Linked DNA regions of Homo sapiens: all the other regions are linked to region 2. The links are contacts of gene promoters, found by promoter capture Hi-C in blood cells and fetal thymus (Javierre and others, 2016). All regions are on one chromosome and are shown on one strand. The core of a region is centred on a gene start or on the middle of the fragment in contact, and the rest is flanking DNA. Distances in the headings are between cores, read along the strand shown. Region 1 overlaps PLBD1 (phospholipase B domain containing 1). Region 2 holds the start of WBP11 (WW domain binding protein 11). Region 3 overlaps PLBD1 (phospholipase B domain containing 1). Region 4 overlaps ATF7IP (activating transcription factor 7 interacting protein).

What was found. Contacts are between HindIII fragments. The CHiCAGO score rates a contact against its expected background, and 5 or more counts as called.
Region 1: a contact is called between a fragment that was not itself captured here and the fragment with the promoter of WBP11 in region 2, in 1 of 17 cell types (neutrophils). The highest score is 6.7, in neutrophils.
Region 3: a fragment that was not itself captured here is called in contact with the fragment with the promoter of WBP11 in region 2 in 1 of 17 cell types (neutrophils); the score reaches 5.0 in neutrophils.
Region 4: a fragment that was not itself captured here is called in contact with the fragment with the promoter of WBP11 in region 2 in 1 of 17 cell types (neutrophils); the score reaches 6.1 in neutrophils.

The regions. Positions count from the first base shown.
Region 1 is chr12:14,538,577-14,544,221 of GRCh38, reverse strand. It overlaps PLBD1 (phospholipase B domain containing 1), which reads left to right. Exons shown (of 11, transcript NM_024829.6): 3 at 1,931-2,014; 4 at 3,320-3,458. PLBD1-AS2 (PLBD1 antisense RNA 2) reads right to left here. Exons shown (of 5, transcript NR_187784.1): 4 at 2,973-3,131; 5 at 647-784. Among named protein-coding and RNA genes, the nearest start is that of PLBD1-AS2, 11 kb to the right of the region's middle. The HindIII fragment of the contact is 4,455 bases long and covers 1-3,477 here.
Region 2 is chr12:14,801,186-14,806,304 of GRCh38, reverse strand. WBP11 (WW domain binding protein 11) reads left to right here and starts at 2,827. Exons shown (of 12, transcript NM_016312.3): 1 at 2,827-2,953; 2 at 4,877-4,985. The coding sequence starts at 4,922. It overlaps C12orf60 (chromosome 12 open reading frame 60), which reads right to left and starts at 2,635. Exons shown (of 2, transcript NM_175874.4): 1 at 2,554-2,635. SMCO3 (single-pass membrane protein with coiled-coil domains 3) reads left to right here. Exons shown (of 2, transcript NM_001013698.2): 2 at 1-1,655. The coding sequence ends at 302. RefSeq lists an enhancer at 2,292-2,531. The HindIII fragment of the contact is 2,157 bases long and covers 1,145-3,301 here.
Region 3 is chr12:14,518,385-14,524,135 of GRCh38, reverse strand. All of the region lies in intron 6 of PLBD1 (phospholipase B domain containing 1), which reads left to right. Among named protein-coding and RNA genes, the nearest start is that of PLBD1-AS2, 8.9 kb to the left of the region's middle. The HindIII fragment of the contact is 753 bases long and covers 1,206-1,958 here.
Region 4 is chr12:14,497,711-14,503,215 of GRCh38, reverse strand. It overlaps ATF7IP (activating transcription factor 7 interacting protein), which reads right to left. Exons shown (of 15, transcript NM_018179.5): 15 at 286-5,505. The coding sequence ends at 5,143. Among named protein-coding and RNA genes, the nearest start is that of PLBD1-AS2, 30 kb to the left of the region's middle. The HindIII fragment of the contact is 2,437 bases long and covers 40-2,476 here.

The sequences.
Region 1 (5,645 bases), core at 1-2,500, 260 kb after region 2:
AGCCTGGGTGACAGAGCAAGACTCCGTTTCAAAAAAACACAAGTCCTTAGTTGGAAGACACAGCCTTTTAAATTGCTATAATGCAGCAGATGAGACTGCAGACAATTGAAGATAAAGGGAACAATCTTAAAAGCTATTAGAAAGGAAAGACATTAACTACAAAGGAATTTCAGCAGGAAGCATATTGCTGATCATCAGCAATAGTGTCAGAAGATACCAAGATATTATCTTAAAAGTATTGAGGAGAAATATCTTACTAGAATGTTATAACCATTTAAATTATCCAAGAGTAGGGGCAAAATAAGAATATGTTCAGATACATAAATTAAAAGTTTACCACCCAAAGACGTCTATTAAACTGTTAGAGGATATACTTTAGCAAGTATAATAGTAGGGAAGGTGTGGTATATAAGGAACAATCGTTAATACAAGAAACAAAAAATTAATACAATTTAATTGTAAAGGTTAAAAAGAAAATAATTTTTATTTTTTTTCCTGAGATGGAGTCTTGCTCTGTTGCCCAGGCTGGAATGCAATGGCATGATCTTGGCTCACTGCAACCTCCACCTCCCAGGTTTAAGCGATTCTCCTGCCTCAGCCTCCCAAGTAGCTGGGATTACAGGTGCACGCCTCCAGGGCCAGCTAATTTTTTTGTGTGTGTATTTTTAGTAGAGACGGGGTTTCACCATGTTGGCCAGGCTGTTCTCAAACTCCTGACCTCGTGATCTGCCCACCTCAGCCTCCCAAAATGCTGGGATTACAAGTGTGAACCATCGTGCTCGGCCTAAGAAAATAATTTTTAAATCAAAATTTTTAATTAAAAAGGTAAAACTAAATCTTTGAACAATAACATGATGGAGGATGTCAATGGGTAGTTAAAATTTGCTAAAATATGCTTTATGTTTGGAGGAAGAGAGAAATATAAAACTCATTTAGACTTTATAAGAAAATATTAGTTATATCTTTTTAATATTAAGAATAAAAATACATTCTATAGGTTTTAAATCAGCAAAACTGAAAAGAAAATAACAAAAGTATTATCTAAACAAAGAAAACATGAAAGAGGGGACAAATAAAGGGATAGTAAATGGAAAACAGAAAAGATTATAGAGATAAATCCAAGAATGTTAAAATCCCAGTAATATAAGTGGATTATTTTAATCAATTAAAAATATTAACTGTACACCATATGAGACATTTTTAATTTTTTTAAGTTTTAAAATAAAGAATCGCTGCAAGCTCTGCCTCCCAGGTTCATGCCATTCTCCTGCCTCAGCCTCCCGAGTAGCTGGGACTACAGGCGCCCGCCACCACGCCTGGCTAATTTTTTCCATTTTTAGTACAGACGGGGTTTCACCGTGTTAGCCAGGATGGTCTCGATCTCCTGACCTTGTGATCCGCCTGCCTCAGCCTCCCAAAGTGCTGGGATTACAGGCATGAGCCACCGTGCCCAGCCAGTATGATCTTTTTTATAGTGTGTTGCGAACATGATAAATAATTCTATACATTATTTATGGTTAAATGTATATGTAGTAATTGCATAAAAACATGCATGGGAATAATCAGATTCAAGACTGAAGTTATTACCTCTTGGGAGAAGGGAAAACAATTAGCATCAGGAAGTGCACACAGAGGCTTCGACTCAAATTTTTTGTTTGATTTTTAAAATATATGTGGCAAATATGGCAAAATATAATAACTTAATAAAGTTGAGCGGTGAATACTTGGGGTGTTTTCAATATTCTATCCTTTTCTATATGTTGTAAATATTTCCCAATTTGAAACTGTGCATTTATTAAGGAAAAAAAAGATAGTAGGCAGAGTTTGTAATAAGGGACATCCTAGTTAGCCAAATGATTGAATAATTTACTGTGATGGAGAAATCCAAGAAGAAAAATATAAATGTAATAATTTTCATGTATCATTTCAGACACATGAATGACCACTACACAAACCTCTACCCACAGCTGATCACGAAACCTTCCATCATGGATAAAGTGCAGGATTTTATGGAGTACGTATAATAGCTTTTCTCTTTTCATTGTTTTAAATGTTGGAGGCACTGAATCTGTAATTTCAAGCAGCAATTTTTTGCCAATTTCTTTTTAATCTCTTTAGCAGGACTCTAGAGTTATTCTTGTAGTAGGGTATAGCACTTTTTGCTAATGGCATGAAAAGTGGTTGCAGACAACATGCTCTCTAATTTCAGCTCTTTCAAAGGTTGAGTTGAATATCGCATACTCAATTGCTAACACGGTTAGAGGAACATCACCAGTGTAAAGTACCAGTGTTAAGTCCCTGGGTCTGTTCCTCATGGAGGCCCTTCTCCTTTTTTCAGGGATCCCCTCTCCTCGCTCTTTAAGATGTTTCCTTTTCATGAGCCTGCTTACTAATCCTAGCTGAGGTCTTCAATAATATCTAAAGTTATAACTCTTAACACCCTCTGAGAATATTTCCATTTTAATAAAGTTTTCTAAGACTAAAGTTTTAAATGTGTTTACATTTGTGGGATGACAGGAGATTAATTTGGGGACAGAAAGGCTCTTGGGTTGGCCCTCCAAACTGCACTCTAAGCAACCTCTTCATGAAATGCTTAAAGTCCTATAGAGCTTCAGTTAAAAACCACTGGGCTAGATCCCATGAAGCAATGACATTATTCTAAGATTGAGCTAGTGATAGCCTGGACAAGTCAGAAATAGTTTTCAGTACGCAAAGTTATATCAAATCATCCCATAAAAGTTCAGAGAACTGGAAGAAGAGTGAAAGGACCATTAAAAAATGACATTTTTGCTACCATGCTAGGACAGAGGCATTGAAGCGGTTACTAATAACAACTGAAACGGAATGAATCATAAGCTATGCAAATGATCTGAGAGAAATACAAACAGATATAAACCACCTTGTCCTTAGATTTTTGTCCCGTTGTTTAACTTTACTACTTCTACAACTAAAAGTAAGGTGAATCAACCTACCTTTATTGACTTTGTGAAACATTGTGGTTTTACACAAAATGCATTTGGATAGTCTCTCCTTGACATGTTTAGGTCTTGTATCACAGTTAGGTCACTATCACACTTATGCTTTTGTTCTAGATACAGCACAGAAGAAGCTGTGAAAGAAGAATCATAACCCTAGGGAGAAATTAAAAATCAGTTAGAATTTGCCCTGAAGTCCTTTGAGTGACTGGAGTGTTACAAGATCTAGAATTTAAATCACATTAGCATAAGTGTCTGAGTATATAATCTCTCAATGCCTGCTTTGATTTAGCTTTGAATGAGCAACTATTGAGACTGTGGTGCAAATCTAATTTCTCTTCCAGGAAGCAAGATAAGTGGACCCGGAAAAATATCAAAGAATACAAGACTGATTCATTTTGGAGACATACAGGCTATGTGATGGCACAAATAGATGGCCTCTATGTAGGAGCAAAGAAGAGGGCTATATTAGAAGGGACAAAGGTAGGACTTTAAACAAGCTTCTCAGAATTTATAGAGTATGGTAAGAATATTGAATGTTATCTTTAAAATAACATTCCAATTTAGAAGCAGGTCAAAGTAGAACTACAGTATAAATTCCTTACGGAAAAGAACTGTCATAGCTCTCATATTGCAGCACCTAACTTACAAAATTACAAGCCCAAAACACAAATAAGCCAACTTGTTTCTGTGTATTTTCAATCTTCCATAATACTGGGCTCAGGATTAGGTTAAAAAGCATAGTATGAATGTACTGGGTTTTTAGCTAATCTGATAAAACTAGTGTTTTAGACTGCATGCTCATTAAGACAAGATGTTTAAGTATACAAGTTCTATGTTTCCCACACTCCACAACATTCACATAAACACATATCCACACAAACACATATACATTCTAATTCTGGGGGAAAGCTTTACTGAATCACTAAGGCTTCCAATGTACCATTTGATGTACTTCCAAAATTATGGATATTTTATTTCCCGTGATAATATATGTCTAAATGAAAAATGTATATTATATAACTGTCTTTTGGTCTATTTTGCCAGTATATATGTATATAATCTGTATATTATATAACATGTTACATTTATTATGTTTTGTCTATTTTGCCAGTATATATATATATATATATATAAATAATATTTATATTATATAACTCTCTTTTTGCCTATTTTGACCAGTGTGTGTGTGTATATATATATATATATATATATATATATATATATATATATGTGCATAGCTTTTCTTTGAACTTTTTGTCTATTTTGTCCAGTATTTGTATATATATGTATATGTATACATATATACACACATATATACATGTACATGTCTGTGTATATATGTGTGTATATATATGTGTATATACACATATATATTGATAAATGTCAAAACAATAATACCCAGTGAAAGGAATGAGTTACAGAAAAATGCATACAGTAAGACTCTAACTTTTTTTTTTTTAGTCAGAGTCTTGCTTTTTCACCCAGGCTGGAGTGCAGTGGCATGATCTTGGCTCACTGCAACCTCTGCCTCCTGGGTTCAGGTGATTCTCCTGCCTCATCCTCCCGAGTAGCTGGGACTACAAACTTGAGCCACCACACCCAACTAATTTTTGTATTTTTAGTAGAGATGAGGTTTTACCATGTTGGCCAGGCTAGTCTCGAACTCCTGACCTCAAAAGATCCATCCGCCTCAACCTCCCAAAGTGCTGGGATTACAGGTATGAGCCATTGCACCCAGCCCACACAATATGACTGTATTTGTGCAAATTCAAAAAAGGTAGATTTTAAAAAATATATCTTAAAAATATATATAGATGATAAATATATTATATATAGATGATAAATAATAGAGAGGCAGGTAATGAGCTATACAAAATTTAGCATAGTGGTGACCGCTGGCGGGAAAGGAGAGAGATGAGATTGGAGACTTCCAAGGCACTGCTAATGTTCCATTTCGTAAACTGTGAGTTGACTACATCAGTGTTTATTTATTTTTCCTTAAATGGTATGTATACATCTTTATTCTTTCAGATGTATAATATCATCTGTCCTCACTCTTCTAAGCAGTGTTCCAATGTATGGATGTATTATACAGTATAACAAAAGAAATGCAAATATCAATTACAATGGGATACTGTTTTGCACCTATGAGATTGGAAATAAACTAAATGTTTAATATGTTGTTGAGGATGGAAGAGTTTTATTTATTTATTTATTTATTTAGAGACAGAGCCTCGCGATATCACCCAGGCTGGAGGGCAGTGGTTGATCTCAGCTGCAACCTCCGCCTCCTGGACTCAAGCAATTCTCGTGCCTCAGCCTCTTGAGTAGCTGGGATTACAAGCATGCGCCACCATGCCCGGCTAATTTTTGTATTTTTAATAGAGATGGGGTTTCACCGTGTTAGCCAGGCTGGTCTCGAACTCCTGACCTCAGGTGATTCACTGGACTCGGCCTCCCAAAATGCCGGGATTACAGGCATAAGCCACTGTGCCCGGCCAGAAGAGTATAATTTAAACAATTCGTATGAGGACAATTTGGCAATATCTATTAAAATCTAAATCACTTCTAGGAATTTATCCTACACATAGACTCAAACACAAGCAAAATGAAGCGTCCAAGATTAATTATTGTGGCATTGTTTACAATATCAAAAGACTAGAAACC
Region 2 (5,119 bases), core at 1,578-4,077:
CTGCAGCCAGTGCAGTCGCTGTTAAACTTGTGGGCTCAAATGTCACAACTGGCATAATTAACAAGTTGGTCACTGTGTTAGCTCAAATTGGTGCTTCTCTCCTTGGTAGTATTGGAGTTGCTGTTCTTGGCCTTGGCATAGATATGATTGTCCGTGCCATCCTGGGAGCAGTGGAAAAAACACAGCTTCAAGCAGCCATCAAAAGTTATGAGAAGCATCTGGTGGAGTTCAAATCAGCCTCAGAAAAATATAATCATGCCATTACTGAGGTCATCAATACAGTGAAACACCAAATGAAATGAACAGCCGTTTTATTTGCCACTGAAGTGTTTTTCTGCTTCCTTTTCAGTAACAGTGTTTGCTTCTTTGATTAGGTTCATTTTCTATAGGCTTCCAATATGGACTTAAATAAGATAAACAATTTGGAGAGGGAAACTGGAGATGCCAAGACTAGATGACTAGATGAGTTTTGAGTCAACAATGCCTGGATCAGCTGATGCTAGACCCTGTGAGGTAAAAAAATTTTCTCCCTGGATGTTTTCACACCCTGCTCTACCAGATCAACATTGGGGTAAATGCTATCGTAGAGTAGCAAGTATAGGGGTTACTTTTCTCTTTTCTAATTTCAGTAAAATTCTTAAATTTCACATTGAATGCAGAGACTTTCATTTCTACCACCAGCTTCAAACATCATTTAGTTATAAGGGGACATACTCAGTAACTTCTGCCTAGACACAAACTCTAGGCCTTCGAATGAGACAGAAATACTACCATATTTTTGACCATCAGAGTAAATCTGGTTTTCTGTAAACTAGAAGAGACTGAAAAATGGTTTGTAACAATGTGCTTCAATTAGGACAGGAAGCTGATCTGTAAACGTCTACTGATTACACAATGTAAACCGGATGGATTTGAAAATGGTAAAAATCAAAACTAAAAACATCAAGGTCCTGTTTCAGTCACTGCAATCAACCCTGACCAACTGTGATAATTAAATATCGCTCAAGTGAATGTTCAAACACTGAAACATTTAGAAGACAAGAAAGCAAAACACAGCTACACATATTGCATTTAGGATGCAGAATAGAAGGTCACTACTCAAAGCATTTGTCATTTAAAAGAAAGTCATAATTTATTATAAGCTTTCAGAAAAAAGAATATAATTTCATTTTCAACACTAGCAAAAAGGAGGCAGCTGCCTTTGCTACATGACGCATTAGGTGGGCCATTTCACTAATTACCTGATTTTAGAAAACGCCAAAGGCTATGGAAGCCTATTAATGGTTCCGCTGAATCTCTGCAGATGTGTTTGTTTTCTAAATCCTTTGCCAACCAATAATTCCCATGAGGACTCTTTTAGTCTATACTGACAAAATTATTAATATGCTGTTGATGCCAGACTGTGTTTGTTATAGTTGATTCTCCCATCCAAGTACAAGAAATGTATTGAAATAAAAACTGCTCAGCATATCTTAAAAATAGTAGCTACATATAAAATTTTAGCTACATGAAAGACTTTAATATTTCCAACATACACTGTTTTCTCTTTCTCTTCTTGCATTGTTTTTCAAAACGAGTTGCAAAACTATGATCACTAATGTGTTAGGAAAGAAAAAAAACTAGTTGCAAAACATTACAACTTAGCTCACCTTCGCAGTTCAAGATTATTTTCTTTTTTATGTACTACCTGGTTTATCAGCTTTAACCTACAATATCTCGTCATTGCTTTCTGACACTCAAATTCAGTCTAAAATCAAATCAAGAATTTCCTAACACAAAGGTAAGTTTAGGTATAGGACCGATCTTATACCTTCAAGGGCAGTTTAAAGATTCTGCTAAAAATTAGTATGTATCTCCATCAATATTTTGAAATATTTATAACTGGTGGTAAGAATAGCCTTCCTACATGGGATAGTCAGGTTAAGATTAGAAATAACCAAGCGTATCCTCTAAGATAGTTTTTTAAATGTTTAAACTTACCTTTAAGGGAAATAAGTGGGGGCTGACTCACGGAAAGAGGGGATAGAAGGTAGGGAAAGGGCGAAGGCTAGAGTTAAGTGAAGAATCCCGTACGTAGAGTGACATCATAGAGGACTTTTGGCTGGTGAAAAGACCAGTCGGGAATATAGCCAATATATATCAACCTTGCCACTCATATAACTTAAAACCGACTGCATATGTATCCCCGTATTTCTTCTTCAAAACACTACTAACAAATAATAAATCACCGCCCATATAAGCAATCTGCGACTCTAATACGGGTGCTAATTTATTTGTTCAGGTGGTCTACAAACGTTCTGTTCTGCCTGTCTATTAAATTTCCACACGTACTAGGCGCTCACATGGGATAACCTGATGCTTACAAAGCGGATTAAACTCAGTGGCAAATGTTATCTGGGTATTCGTTTACACACGGAGACACCCCTAAAGGATCGCACCTGCTTGGGTCATAAGAAACAGAAAAATGCAAAAACTAAGGTAATTCCAAAAGACAGAAAACGCAGAACGCTTCTTTATCTGCAGAATGTACCGTTCTCGGACGGCTCAACGTACCAGGCTCCCAGCAACTAAGTCAAGATGCCTCCAACTCGAGAGACAGGACCGTCAGCCACTCAGTTAGCAGCTATCTTCTTCTAATTCCTATTGTACTAGATGAGCGCAATGAGGCGGGCTCTTAGCCGACAACCAACCAATTGAGTATTGTATGGAACCGGAAGAGACTCTGGTCCTGGAATTCTTGGGTATTCTCTATGGTTCCAGGGTCAAGCGGCGCTAAGAGAAGGCGGGACAGAGGAATGGGAAATGACGTGAGGAGTGCGGAGGGGCGCGAGGTTTCAAGATGGCGGTAGCTGAGGGGTTGACCGAGAGACCCAGTTGAAGGCCTTTACGAAGTGAAAGAGGCCGGGAGTCGCCCCCTACCCGCTTCTCGTAGTCCTGGGAGCACAGCAGAAGTGTGAGTGTATTGAATTGATTTACTACTCTTCCTCACCTCTTTCGTCCCTTCCACGTCCCGCGCAGCGGCTTGGGGGACACCCAGCCCCTTTGCCCCGCTCCTCCTCTCCCTGGTTGAGGTCTCCCTGTTGCGGACTGGGCTATTCCTGGGCCTGGGGTGGCGCGGCGACCAGTGGTTGCGCGGTTGGCATCGCCCGGGTCGGTTGGGGCCGCTTCTTACGCACGTTGATTAGTAGCCTTAGGTTTGACGTCTTGTACCTCGAGTCATGGTCGGTCAGCCGTCGCTATGGTTTCGTCAGTTGCTGGTGTTGCCTCCTTTGGTGAACCTGGACCCTATCCCATTGAAGCTTCTTTGGCTGTTTAGAGTTATCCAACGCTTATTTGGCTTGATTTTCCAGTCGCCTCCGCTTGTAGACAAAAAACTAATCTGCAGACTTAAGCTCCAGTGTCTTCCGTAAAATTCTCTGTAATTCGTATCCGTTGTGTTTCATTTGTGGGGGAGGAGATTCAGAACATGAGCCTGAGGAAACTTGAGAAAGGAAAGCACAAAAAACGCAGGCAATCAAAGATGGGAGAGCTTGTATATGTACTGATTTTGCTTGTTTTCCTCCTTCCCTACCTCCTACTCCCTGCTGCTCTCCCACCCCCCTAACCCCCCCATCCCCAGTTTTTCTTAGAAGGAAACCACTTGACAGGGTGTATGGTAGCTAGGCCAGGAATATGGATCCATTATAAAGATTTTAGTTAAGTAGTGAGTCAAACATCACAGGATATTTTATTTGTAATCTCATTGTATCATCAGAGCTTTGTTATAAAGTAATTGATGTCCCCATTTTTTAGATGAGGAAGCTAAAAATCAGAGCCTTTGATACCGCTGTCTTGAAGTAATTGCCACCAGAACAGCTGTGAAACATCTGGCTTTCTGAAACATCTGGCTTTCGGGGCAGTTGGACACTTGGTGAAAGAGACATTAACTGTAATAAACTGGGCTGACAAAATCTTCCCTTTCTTACCTTTAAAAAGTGTCTACTTGCAAAAGGAAGCAAATTTGTCCGCCTTTATTACTGGAAAGACTGCGCTTCAAAAAATTAAGCCCCATTATTTTGGAATAAGAGGAAGAAGTCATGTAATAGGGTACTGTGTTAATAAAAGTTTTAGCTTACAAAATATTTTTTCCTCAAACAAAAATAAGTATTCCCTTTAATTACCTTAAGAAATATATATTGGGAGTCAGGTCTTAGTAAGAAAAATATGTGTCTTAATATTTAAGTTTTGGGGAGCTCTCAGTATAGCACTAATTTCAAATATTTGCATTTTTAGTTGTGTTTTGAACTCTTGAGAGTCAAGCATTATATCTGAACTAGAACTGAATCTGAATTAAATATGCTTAAATTAATGAGTTTTTAGTGTCTTAGAAGTATTGAGAATGTACAGCATACATGCCAAGAAAAACCATGGAGAGAGGCAAAGGTGAGGTATGTGTTTTGAGCCTAGATCCATTACCCCCATTCCCTTCTTATTCTTCTTTTACAATTACATGTTAATAAAGGGAGGTTATAGAAGAAGGACTAATGAATTCTGATGTTCATGGTTTGTGCCATATCGTTAAAGCATTTTCTAGTTGTTTTTATCAGTTGACAAAGTCAGTGCTGTGATCCATAAGAAAAAAGCTAAACTGATGACTTGAGGATATTCAAAGTGGTCTTCACACTCATCACATTTCTGAAGAATGATAGAGATCTAAATTTTCATGGTCAAGAAAGGTGATGCCATCTTTCTTGGACATTAAAGTCAAAACTAAGGAAAGAACAGTCTCACAGAATTTCTAATTAAAGGAATTTTTTTTCAGAGATTGGTAGGGACTAGAAAAAGGAAGAAATACATTTAGGAGATATAAGCTATTTCTTTGTCTTCACCTTCACAGGTTTTTCTTTTTTTAATGAACAAGTAAACCATACAAATTGTCAACATGGGACGGAGATCTACATCATCCACCAAGAGTGGAAAATTTATGAACCCCACAGACCAAGCCCGTAAGTGTCCATTAGTGTGGAATGATGAAGTAGGAGAGTGTTAAAAATTGCAAATATTAGGGAATTTCTTTCTCTGTGGCTTAATTACAAGACCAGCAGTGATAGGAGGAATAAATTATATATTCAGGGTTTGT
Region 3 (5,751 bases), core at 333-2,832, 280 kb after region 2:
TTGTTCTTCTCTATACTTGTATGAGATCGGCTTTTATAGATTCCACATCTGAGTGAGATTGTGGAGTATTTGTCTTTCTGTGCCTGGCTTATTTCATTTAACATAATGCCCTCAGGGCTCATCCACATTGCTACACATGACATAATTTGATCCTTTTTATGGCTGAATAGTATTCCATTATATGTATATGTATCATATTTTCTTTATCCATTCATCTGTTGATAGCCATTTAGGTTGATTCCATATCTTGACTATTGTGAATAGTGCTGCAATAAGCATGAGAGTGTGGATATCTCTTTAACATACTTATTTCATTTCCTTTGGATAAATACCCAGCAAGGGGTCTAGTTTCATTCCTCTCCATGTAGATACCCAGTTTTCCAAGCACCATTTATCAAAGAGAATTTTTTCCAATGTGTGTTCTTAGTGTCTTTGTCAAAAATCAATTAGCTGTAAGTGTGTGAATTTATTTCTGTATTTTTTATTCTGTCTTATTAGTATATATGTCTATTTTTATGCCAGTACTATGCTGTTTTGGTTATTATAACTTTGTAGTATATTTTGAAGCCAGGTAGTGTGATGTTTCCAGCTTTGTTCTTTTTGCTCAAGATTGCTTTGACTATTTGGGGTCTTTTGAGGTTCCATACACATTTAAAGATTTTTTTCTCTTTCTATGAAGAATGTCATTGGTATTTTGATAGAGATTGCACTGAATCTGTCAATTGCTTTGATTAGTATGGACATTTTTTTAAAAATTCCTCAAATCCGTAAACATGGAATATCTTTCCATTTGTATCCTCTTCATTTCTTATGTCAATATTTTATAGGTTTCATCATAGAGATCTTTCACCCGCTTAGTTAAGTGTTTGTTTTTGTAGCTGTAGTAAATGGAATTGCCTTCTTATTTTTTTCTGATTGTCTGCTATTGTCATATAGAAATGCTATAGATTTTTGTATATTGATTTTATATCCTGCAACTGTACTCAATTTACTTATTAGTTCTAACAGTATTTTGGTGAAGTTTTCAGGGTTTTCCCTGTATAAGATTATGTCATTTGGAAGCAGGGACAGTTTGATTTCTGCCTTTTCAATTTGGATGCTCTTTTTGTCTTTCTCTTGCCTGATTGCTTTGGCTAGAACCTCCAGTATTATGTTAAATAAAAGTGGTGCATTTGTGTCTTGTTCCAGATCTTAGAGGAAAAGCTTTCAACTTTTCCCCATTCAGTATGATGCTAGCTGTGAATTTGTCATATATGGGCTTTATTGTGTTGAGTTACATTTCTTGTATATCTGTTTTGTTGAGAGTGTTTATCATGAGGGGATGTTGAATTTTATTAAATATCTTTTCTAGATCAATAGATTCAACATCCCTTCATGGGTTTGTCCTTGATTCTGTTAATATGATGTATTATGTTTATTGATTTGCATATATTGAACCATCCTTGCATCCCTGGAATGAATCCCATTTATTATGGTGAGTGATTTTTCTTAATGTGCTGTTGAATTCAGTTTTTAAATATTTTTTTGAGGAGTTTTGTATCTAGGTTTATTAGGGATATTGGCCAATAGATTTATTTATTTGTTGTGTCCTTATCAGGTTTTGGAATCGGGGTGATGCTGGTCTCATAGAAAGATGTTGGAAGTATTCCCTCCTCTTCATGTCTTTTGAATAGTTTTCAAAGGATTTGTATTAGTTTTTCTTTAATGTTTGGTAGAACTCATCAGTGAGGCCATTGGGTCTTCGGCTTTTCTTTTCTGGAAGACTTTTTATTACTAATTCAATCTCATTACTTGTTATTGGTCTGTTCAAATTTTCTATTTCTTCATGATTCAATTTTCGTTAAGTTTTATGTGCCCAGGAATTTATCCATTTCTTCTAAGTTTTCATATTTGTTGGCATAGAGTTCTCTATATCTCTCTCAAAACTTAAGAAGTTTCTGCTATTATTTTGTGAAGCTTTCTGTGCCCTTCTCCATCTCTTCTCCCTCTCAAGTTTCTATAGTGTGAAAATGTGTTCACTTAATGGTGTCTCATAGGTCTTGTAGGCTTTCTTCACTCTTCAAGCAAAGAGCTGTCTTCAGTTCAGAAATTCTTTATTCTGCTTGGTGTAGTCTGCTGTTGGAACTTTCCATTATATTTTTTATTTCATTCATTAAAGTCTTCAGCTCCAAGAGTTTTTTTTTAATGATATCTCTGTTGAATTCTTTATTCATATCATGATTTGCTTTTCTGATTTTATTGAATTGCCTATCTATATTATCTTGAATCTCATTGATTTTCCTTAAGATCATATTTTTAAATTTTTTATGCAATTAGTAAATTGCCATTTCTTTAAGGTCAGTTATGGGAGAGTTATTGTGTTTTTTTGGTGGTATCATGTTTTCTTGCTTTTTCATATTTCTTGTGTCCCTGCACTGATGTCTGGGCATCTGATAGAATGGATGCCTCTTCCAGTTGTATAGAGTTGTTATCATAGGAAAAGATTTTTGCCTGCAGATGTGTCCTAAGGTGTCGGTTGTGGAGGATGCATTGGCTGTGGTTCCAGGTGGATGCAGTAGTGTAGTCACCATGCAGTTTTTTCAGCTGTAGTCAATGTTAGCAATTTCTATGGATGCCTCAGTGGCATCCTAGCCTGGAGGAGTTTGTATGGCAGCTCTGTCAAATCATATGCATGGCTTTTCTGCTTGTGGCAAGGGTGCCAGTTTGTTTCATGCGCCACGGGTGCACAAGGCCTACTCCAATAGGATTAGACACAGTCTGTCCTCTGGGGGCAGGAGTGCCAGGCTGTTACACACACCGCAAGTGCATAGGGACTGCTCCTTCAGGGTAAGGTGTGGCCTTCCTGCTGGGTAGGATCATCTGTTCCTTGGGCGTCAGGACACCACATGGGCTCAGGCACCAAGGTTATGGCTGTTTCACTGGGCCTATGCTCTGAGTAATTGAGGTTGAGGTGCTGTGCCACAGGGATGGGGAAGATGGAGTGCATCGTAGGCAGCTTATTCCTGGTGGATAGGAAACAGTAGCTGCTCAACTGGTGAGTGGTGTGCTACTGTTTACAAGCACAGTGTACTTGCAGCAGAGCCTCAGGATGGGGAGAAACAAACAGTGGTTACTGGCCCTCCAGAGCACAGTGTACTATAGTAGTGGCACCGGTCTCAAGATAGTGCTGTACATCAGCAGCTTAGATCACAGAGGAGAAGGAGGCACAATGTGGGCTCATTCTTTGGAGTAATACAGCCATGTGAATGCCAGGCAGCTCCCTAGAATGGGTTCATGACTTGTGAAAACTGCAGAATTCTCAAGCAGCAAAGACTGTAGGTGTTTGCATCTTTAATGGAGATTGCTGGGAGTTCTCCTGCTCACGTTTTCTCCGTAGGGAGACTGCCTCCTGGTTTCATACCGACCTTGACTGGGAAGACGAAGTGGCAAAGGCAGAATGTTTCATTCTCTTTTTTATGCAGCCATCCCAAGTCTCCATGCTCCACTGGGTCTCTGCCCCTCCCTTATTGTACTCCTTCGGAACACTTTAGTGTTCTCCTTTGGATACTCTAGTCAAAATGTAGTTGTTTATTCATCATTTTGGTTCCTTTTTTTTTGTAGGGAAATGAATGTTAGGCACCTCTAGTCAGACATCTTGCTGAAGTCACTTGTTTTACTTTTTTTGTTGTTGTTTTTAACAGGCAATTACCTTGCTTGCACTCAAACTTCAACATATGTCACCTGCACAGTGTGCAGCAACCAATGTCCTTCCTCAACACTGCTGCTTCAACCTGGTCTTCTGGAGGTTGCTCCTGCATCTGTGTAATTTAGCAGTCAGTGAAAGATGTTGGCAGCTCAAATTCATATTATAGAGCTAACTCTCTTTGTGATTTCCTTGATCCTAAGGTTTCCCCTATATTCCCATTTGCTTTTCCAGCTCTTACCTTTGTCCTCTGAGAGCCTGAGGAATTTGAGCTGCATATGAGTTGGGAACCCTGGCAGTGTAAGTTGCAGCAAACTCACCTATCTCAGTTCTAGAACATTTCTGTCTTACAAGGGAAAACCCTTCTCATTTCTTTCTGTTTTTACCCTGGGCTCCCTGGCATTTCCCACATTCATGCACAGTTAGTGGTCAGTCAGGGAACAGGACACAGTTCATATTCAGATTTTGGATCTCTGCTCTTCTTGTGGTTCTCTTGCTCCCAAAATTTTCCTCTTAAATTCTCAGCTGTTCTGCAATACTAGACTTTGATCTCACCATCTCAAGCCAGAATGGCTCTAGTTTTCCATAACTAGAGTTGGGTATGGGCTATATATTAGTTTGCTAAGGCTGCCATGACAAAGACTGGGTGGCTTAAACAACAGAAATTAATTATTCTCACAGTTCTAGAAGCTGAGAGTCCAAGATCAAGATATTGACAGGTTTGGTTTATCTCTTTGGCCTACAGATGGCCACCCTCTCACTGTGTCCTCACATGGCCTTTTCTCTGTGTGGGCTATACCTGGCATCACTTCCTCCTTTTTTTTTTTTTTTTTTTAAGATGATGTCTCACTCTGTCATCCAGGCTGGAGTGCAGTGGTGCGATCTCAGCTCACCACAACCTCTGCCTCCCAGGTTCATGTGATTCTCCTGCCTCAGCCTCCCAAGTAGCTGGGACTACAGGTGCATGCCACCACACCCGGCTAATTTTTTGTATTTTTAGTGGAGACAGGGTTTCGCCCTGTTAGCCAGGTGGTCTCGATCTCCTTACCTCATGATCCACCTGCCTCGGCCTCCCAAAGTGCTGGGATTACAGGCATGAGCCACCACGCCCGGCTCACTTCCTCTTCTTATAAGGACACCGGTCATGTTGAATTAGAGTTTGCCCATATGACCTCAGTTGACCTTAATTACCTTTTTAATGCTCTGTATCCAAATATAGTCATATTTTCAGGTACTAGGGGTTAAGACTTCAACATATGAATTTTGAGGAAACAGAATTCAGTCCATATCACGGGTTTAGGAATACACACAGGCAAGGAAGCCTCATACTCCATCTTAACCAATGCTGTACTAATGTTCTGTTTCTCTCTGCCTTTGGTCATTCCTAGTATCTTCAGATCATTGCTTTAAATAATTTTATACAGTTTTATAATTATTATTTGTGGGAAAATCACTCAATTTTATCATGCTGCTATTATTGGAATACTCACCCTTGATACGAGCATTTTTTTTTTGGCTGGGTAATACATAATACCCTAGTGCTTTTCATATTAACAAAGAGTAGCACAAGAGCTCCTTTTAGAAGGTTTTACTAACCTTCAGGCCAAGTAAGTTATCTCTCCTTTGAGCTTCCTAGGTACCCTGTGCATAATTTCTTCAAAGCCCATATTCTGTATTCATGTCTGTGTCCCAGGATGAGCACAGAGCCTTGCATATTATAATCATTGAATAAATATTTATGGAAGGAAGGAGAAAAGAAGGAAGGAAGAAAGAAGGATTAGAGGGAAAACAGTAAGGAGATAGATTATGTCCACTTTGATGTGGACATGGTAGGAACTGTAGGAAAGAAAGACGGGCAATAAAACAAGGAGGAGGTGGGGGCTGCCTAAGAGATCACAGTTCTTATTGTAACTTGCTTTCTATTCATCCTGCCCTCCCTTTCATACCCTAGATTTGAGAACAGGAGTCTAAGATGTTCAGGAATTGTAAGCAAGGGACTTCAGATGCAAAACCTATGTGTTCAGCACAGGACTTGTTACTTGAAGCAAATCCTTTGTGATAAATAACAT
Region 4 (5,505 bases), core at 9-2,508, 300 kb after region 2:
TTTTTGTGATGTAGGTTAGGCATACAATACAGTAAAGCTTACTGTTGCCTCCTATAAGCTAAAAGCACCTATACAATCTGGCAGCAACCCTGCATAGCAACTTTCTTTCGAAACTGGAGAGTTACATGTGATCTGAGTGCCATGGAATTGCCAAGTAGATTAAATAAGCCATACCATACAGTATGTAATGGGTGATTCTAAACAAGGTGGAAGATTCTTAAAAAAGAAAGAAAGAAAAAAAGCCACAAGGGTGAATAACCAGAATTAATCAGAGTACTCAGAATGTTAAAAACCCAGTAGTTTTATTTCAAAGTATAAATTTCAGGCTTGCTGGACAAAACCCCACTACAGGTAACACTTATACAGACACCACTCTACTATACATTTAAAAAAGAAAAACACACACACGCACGCACACACACACACAAACCTTCAAAACCCTAATAAAAATAGGGCCACTTGCTGGAGCCCAGTTTGTATTAGACATTAGGAAGGTCTTACTTACATTGTCTTATTATTTACACTTTCAATTGCAATAAAGAAAAATTAGGATGCAAGTTTCTTACAAAGGATTTTTATATTTAATTTTAAAATGGCTGATAAAATACTAAAGCCAGAATCCCCAAAAGGTGTTTGATTGCCCAGTTACCTTATTTACAAAACAAAACAAAACAAAAACAGACAAAAACAAAGACCTCAAAAAAATAATAAAGACGGCATTTAAATATGGGTACTTAGCTGACTCTACAAATAAAAAACAAAGAAAAGTTTATTTTAACATGGTAAATTATTTGAAAATGAGAAAACAAAACATGTGTTTGCATTATCCTATTCCTCCCCATTGGCTGGCTCAAGGGGATGAATGAGTTTCAGGAATTAGACAAGTCTGCCACACTAACAAACGCTTCATGAGAATTGCTGATTTTTGTGTGTCCCAAAAGTTAAAAATAATAATAATTAAAAAAATAGGGCATTTGCCCAGTAAAAATAGTAAGGAAGGTAGAATCACACATCGGTTTTAGAGTTATTTGATATTGCAAATACTGGGACTTGACTTTTCTGGAAATTAGAATAAAACAGGCCAACCACAGGTCAGTGATAAAACAACAAAATCTTAGGATGTTGAGGATACTGAATTGGCCCAAGAAATAAAGTCAAGGAGAACATTTGGAAGGAAGGTCTTTGCAGTACCTTACTGTGCTAAAATCACAGAGTAAAAAAGTGAGAGATGAGGATACCACAGGCATTACTTTGTTGACCTTGTACAGTACTGGAAAGTTCATGAAACAAGATAAATGAATACCATGCAGTATTAACCCTAACCATGTTGCATAAATGGTAATTTGGAGAATATTTAAAGCAAAAGAGCAAACAACAAAAACTAAGTTAACACTTACCCAGTGCAGTAAGGGAATTGTAAGATACAGCCTGCTTAAGGAGGTCTGCAGACAGATGCACCTAAGATTTCAGCTGTTTTAGGTCACTTTTCTCAAAATATTTATTATCTGGCAATGGGGATGGGAGTGGGGAACACCTCTCTGTGAGGCAAATGGTATCTCAACAAATACCGACTTTTCAAGGAAGAAAGCTCTCCACTTCTCTCATAAACTTATATACTACCTTAAACAGTATGCAGTATTCGGCATATTTTTTAAAAATGAGTCCAGAGAAATAGAAGGATATAGTTACCTCATAAAGTTAACTGTTAGCAACAGACGTCTTCGTATGTGATTTATAAATTTCTTGGCAAGAACAAGATTTTTAGAAGAGGCTTACTCACACTTAAGACAGAGTGAAAATTACTCTCACAGAATGCAAAGTATAGAATAATAAACATCACCATTACCTTTAAATGCCATACAAACATCCTACATTGCAGGTTGCAGTATCAGGTTTCCAGAATTTCCAATAAGGCAATACCTACACAAATATTGCCAGGCTAAAAATGTAGCAAACTTGCATTCCCAAACTGGGAGAATCTAGCTTATTTGTAATACTTTGTGAAAAGATACTATGAAACTAAAAAGGTAACCGTGGAGTGGAAACTGCTACTAGAAAGTCTGTTATCAGTAGCTACTTCTACTTAAGTCCTCCATTCTCTCCCAGAAGAAACAAACCAAACAAAAAGCATCTATCAATATTAAAACCTGCCTCAATAAAAGCCTAGTGTTCTAACTTAGCACCTCTAGTAAATCTAATATAGCTGCTGCCCCTACGTGCCATGGTAGGCTAATTTGAGGACACCATCTTATAATAAATATACTTCTCCCCTAAATAATTGCGATTTCTCCCTGTACCTTCCTTCCAACTGGAATAAAACATTTTAAGTAGTTATTTTACTTTAGTAAATATTTTTAGAATTCCTATTTGAGAATTTGTTTTCCTTTGACAGAAAACATAATATAGGCTAGGCTAATGAATTTTTTTTTTATTCTACTGGGCTTTCTTCATCTGATTATATAATGCTATGAAAGCTTTTTTTAAAAAAGATTAGTAAATATAAATAAAAATGTTCATCAAGAGAACCTTTTGTAGGTTAGGTAAGAAAATTGTTACCACGTGACCATAAAAACACCCAATAAAGAACAATTTGAACATGGGCCTTCAGTTTTGTAGACAGGAATAATCTTGAACACATATCAACATTGCAACCACTGCAGGTCAAAACATATACATGCAGATATAGACAGGTGTTCATATACATCTAGAAGATCATCAACTCCTCCTTTCTGAAATTTTCATTGCCATAACACTGGCAACTTCTTTACCATCATCATTAGTCCTAGAATGAGTAATATCTACATAATTGGTTGGCAAATTTGATTTATAGCATACTCCTTTGTGGTCTCATTTTCTGAGAGTGAAAGGTGGTTTGGAGAATTAATTTTTTGGCAATCTATAGGCTTTCTTCATCATGAATCAAATCTCACACCTCAGTATACTGACCAGTCAAAAGTCTCTAAAGAGTTTTCTTTACAACTAGAATACTTCCTATTATAAGCCATCAAAGTTGCAAACAAAACAACATTAGTAAAAGAGCTCCCTCCTGTAATTCTAGGAAAAATGAATCACTATTTTGAGAAGGTACAAATATGAATTCAAATATTGTAAAGGAAGAGGACTTCGAAGTTATTTCACAAACTCCATAAATTCCTTTCAAAATATTCTCAACCACATTCTCCTCCTAAAACTTAACTCAGCCCTCCAGTCCTAAATTATCTACACCCAAAACACCTACCTGACACCAGTACAGCTGGCCCTCATATTAAAAATCCATGACCTAAGCTGAATTTTAATAACTTTGAAGAGGAACAGAGAGATACACAGGAGGTTATATCTAATTGTTACATAAAATGACCTCAAAGGATATACTTTAAATTCTTTTTTTTTTGAGGCAGAGTTTCGCTCTTGTCTCCCAGGATGGAGTGCAATGGCGCAATCTCAGCTCACTGCAACCTCCGCCTCCCGGGTTCAAGCGATTCTCCAGCCTTGCCTCCTGAGTAGCTGGGATTACAGGCATGCACCAACATGCCCAGCTAATTCTGGGATATACTTTAAATTCTATCCAAAGCTAACAATGGGTACATCAGACTCAACTTGGCACCATCAAAACAAAGTTAAAAGGTTAAAATGGGAAGGACGATAAAGAGAATAAAGAGGAAATGAAGCTTTCCCCTTGATATTTTAGCTCATTCTATATTGTAATCTTACTATTTGCTTCCTTTGAAAGAATACTAAGGAGTTAGTGTTGGGTGATAGCTTTGGGTGATAAACTGAACTAGAATGGTTTTCATAATCTCTAACACAGTGTGCAACACGGATACTAAAATGTGTGAAAAACTGTCTTCCACAATATGGTTTTCTCTTGGTCCACTTTACACAAAGTTAAATAGTGACCAAAAATAAAAGCATCTATAGTTTTAGAAGAAAATAGCACGTCAAATTTTTGGAGTTAAATGTGATTGTCGCCACCATGCCCGGCTAAGATGAGACTATGCATGCACCTGTGTGTGTGTGTACATACACATCCATGTACATACACACACCTTGGTTTAAAAATCACTTGAGTAGGCTGGATACAGTGGCTCACAACTGTAATCGCAGCACTCTGGGAGGCCGAGGCGGGTGGATCACCTGAGGTCAGGAGTTCAAGACCAGCCTGGCCAACATGGTGAAACCCCATCTCTACTAAAAATACAAAAATTAGCCGGGCATGGTGACAGGTGCCTGTAATCCCAGCTACTCTGGGGCTGAGACAGAAGAATTGCTTGAACCCAGGAGGCAGAGGTTGCAGTGAGCCAAGATTGTGCCACCGCACTCTAGCCTGGGCAACAAGAGCAAAACTCCATCTTAAAAAAAAAAAATTACTTGAGGAGTTGTGCTATATTTGGTAGAGATGAAGGAGAAATCAAGGGTAAAAGGCTGCAAGGGAAGACTAAGCAACAACGGACATATGGCCATATTTATTTATTTATTTTTGGCCATGTTTATCTTTGTAGTTAATCTTTAAGGCACAAAATAAATGTAAAAGCCAGATTAGGAAAGGGAGGGGGCCATTGCAGATCTTTTTTCACCTAATTAACAACTCAGGAGACCAGACAAAAGAAACAACAAATAGATCCTTTCCTGTGTTCGAATTAACCTATTTTAAACTATTTAGCCATTTTGTTTTTTATTTATTTCTTTGGGTTTTGTTTTGATTCTGTTTGACCCACTTAACTAAAATGATACTATAGATCCTTCAAAAGCAGAATCATGCCAGTTACACATCTCAAATCCTTTGATCTACTTACTTCGTACTTTAAGAGGTAAATTTGAGAATGAAAATGGGAGACTCCAATGCAATAACACCTACATAAGGAAAAACACACATAAACACCCACACATATTCCCCAGCCTCAAAACTAAAGCAAGGTACACATTTACATTTCCAAACCCCAAAGCCTAAACTGTCCAGGAAAAGATTCTAGCTTTGTGGGCTGAGTTTATTTTGCTTCTGGTTATAAACAAATGTAGTGTATACACACATCTGTCCAAGAAATCTTGCACAAGGTGGATTTTACATGGGGTATCATGCACAAGATTAAAAACAAGACCAAAAGGTGGAAATTTTAAAAGAGGAAAATATAAAGGCTCCAAGGTTTAACTGCTCTGGGTAGAAGAGATCACATCTGTTGACTGAGGATCACAGAAAGGCCCAAAACGTCCATAAATATCCTTGGCTCGTACTGCAAAGTAGTATTTGCTACCAGATACAAACTGGGTGAGAGTACATGCCATGGGCAAGGGAAGTGCCTTGACTTCCCCAATCTTTTTCCATTGTGAGGGCACAGTGGCACTGGGTTCCTCATGGTAAGCATAGAGATGGTAGCTATCAACAGTGGCACAGCTTCGATCCACCTCCAGGACACTCCATGACAGTACTATGCCATTTTGACTCTGAACGCGTGCTAACTTCAAGTGTGGCTTCTGAGGCAGAGATGTGCTGGCAGCTTCTGGGGGCAG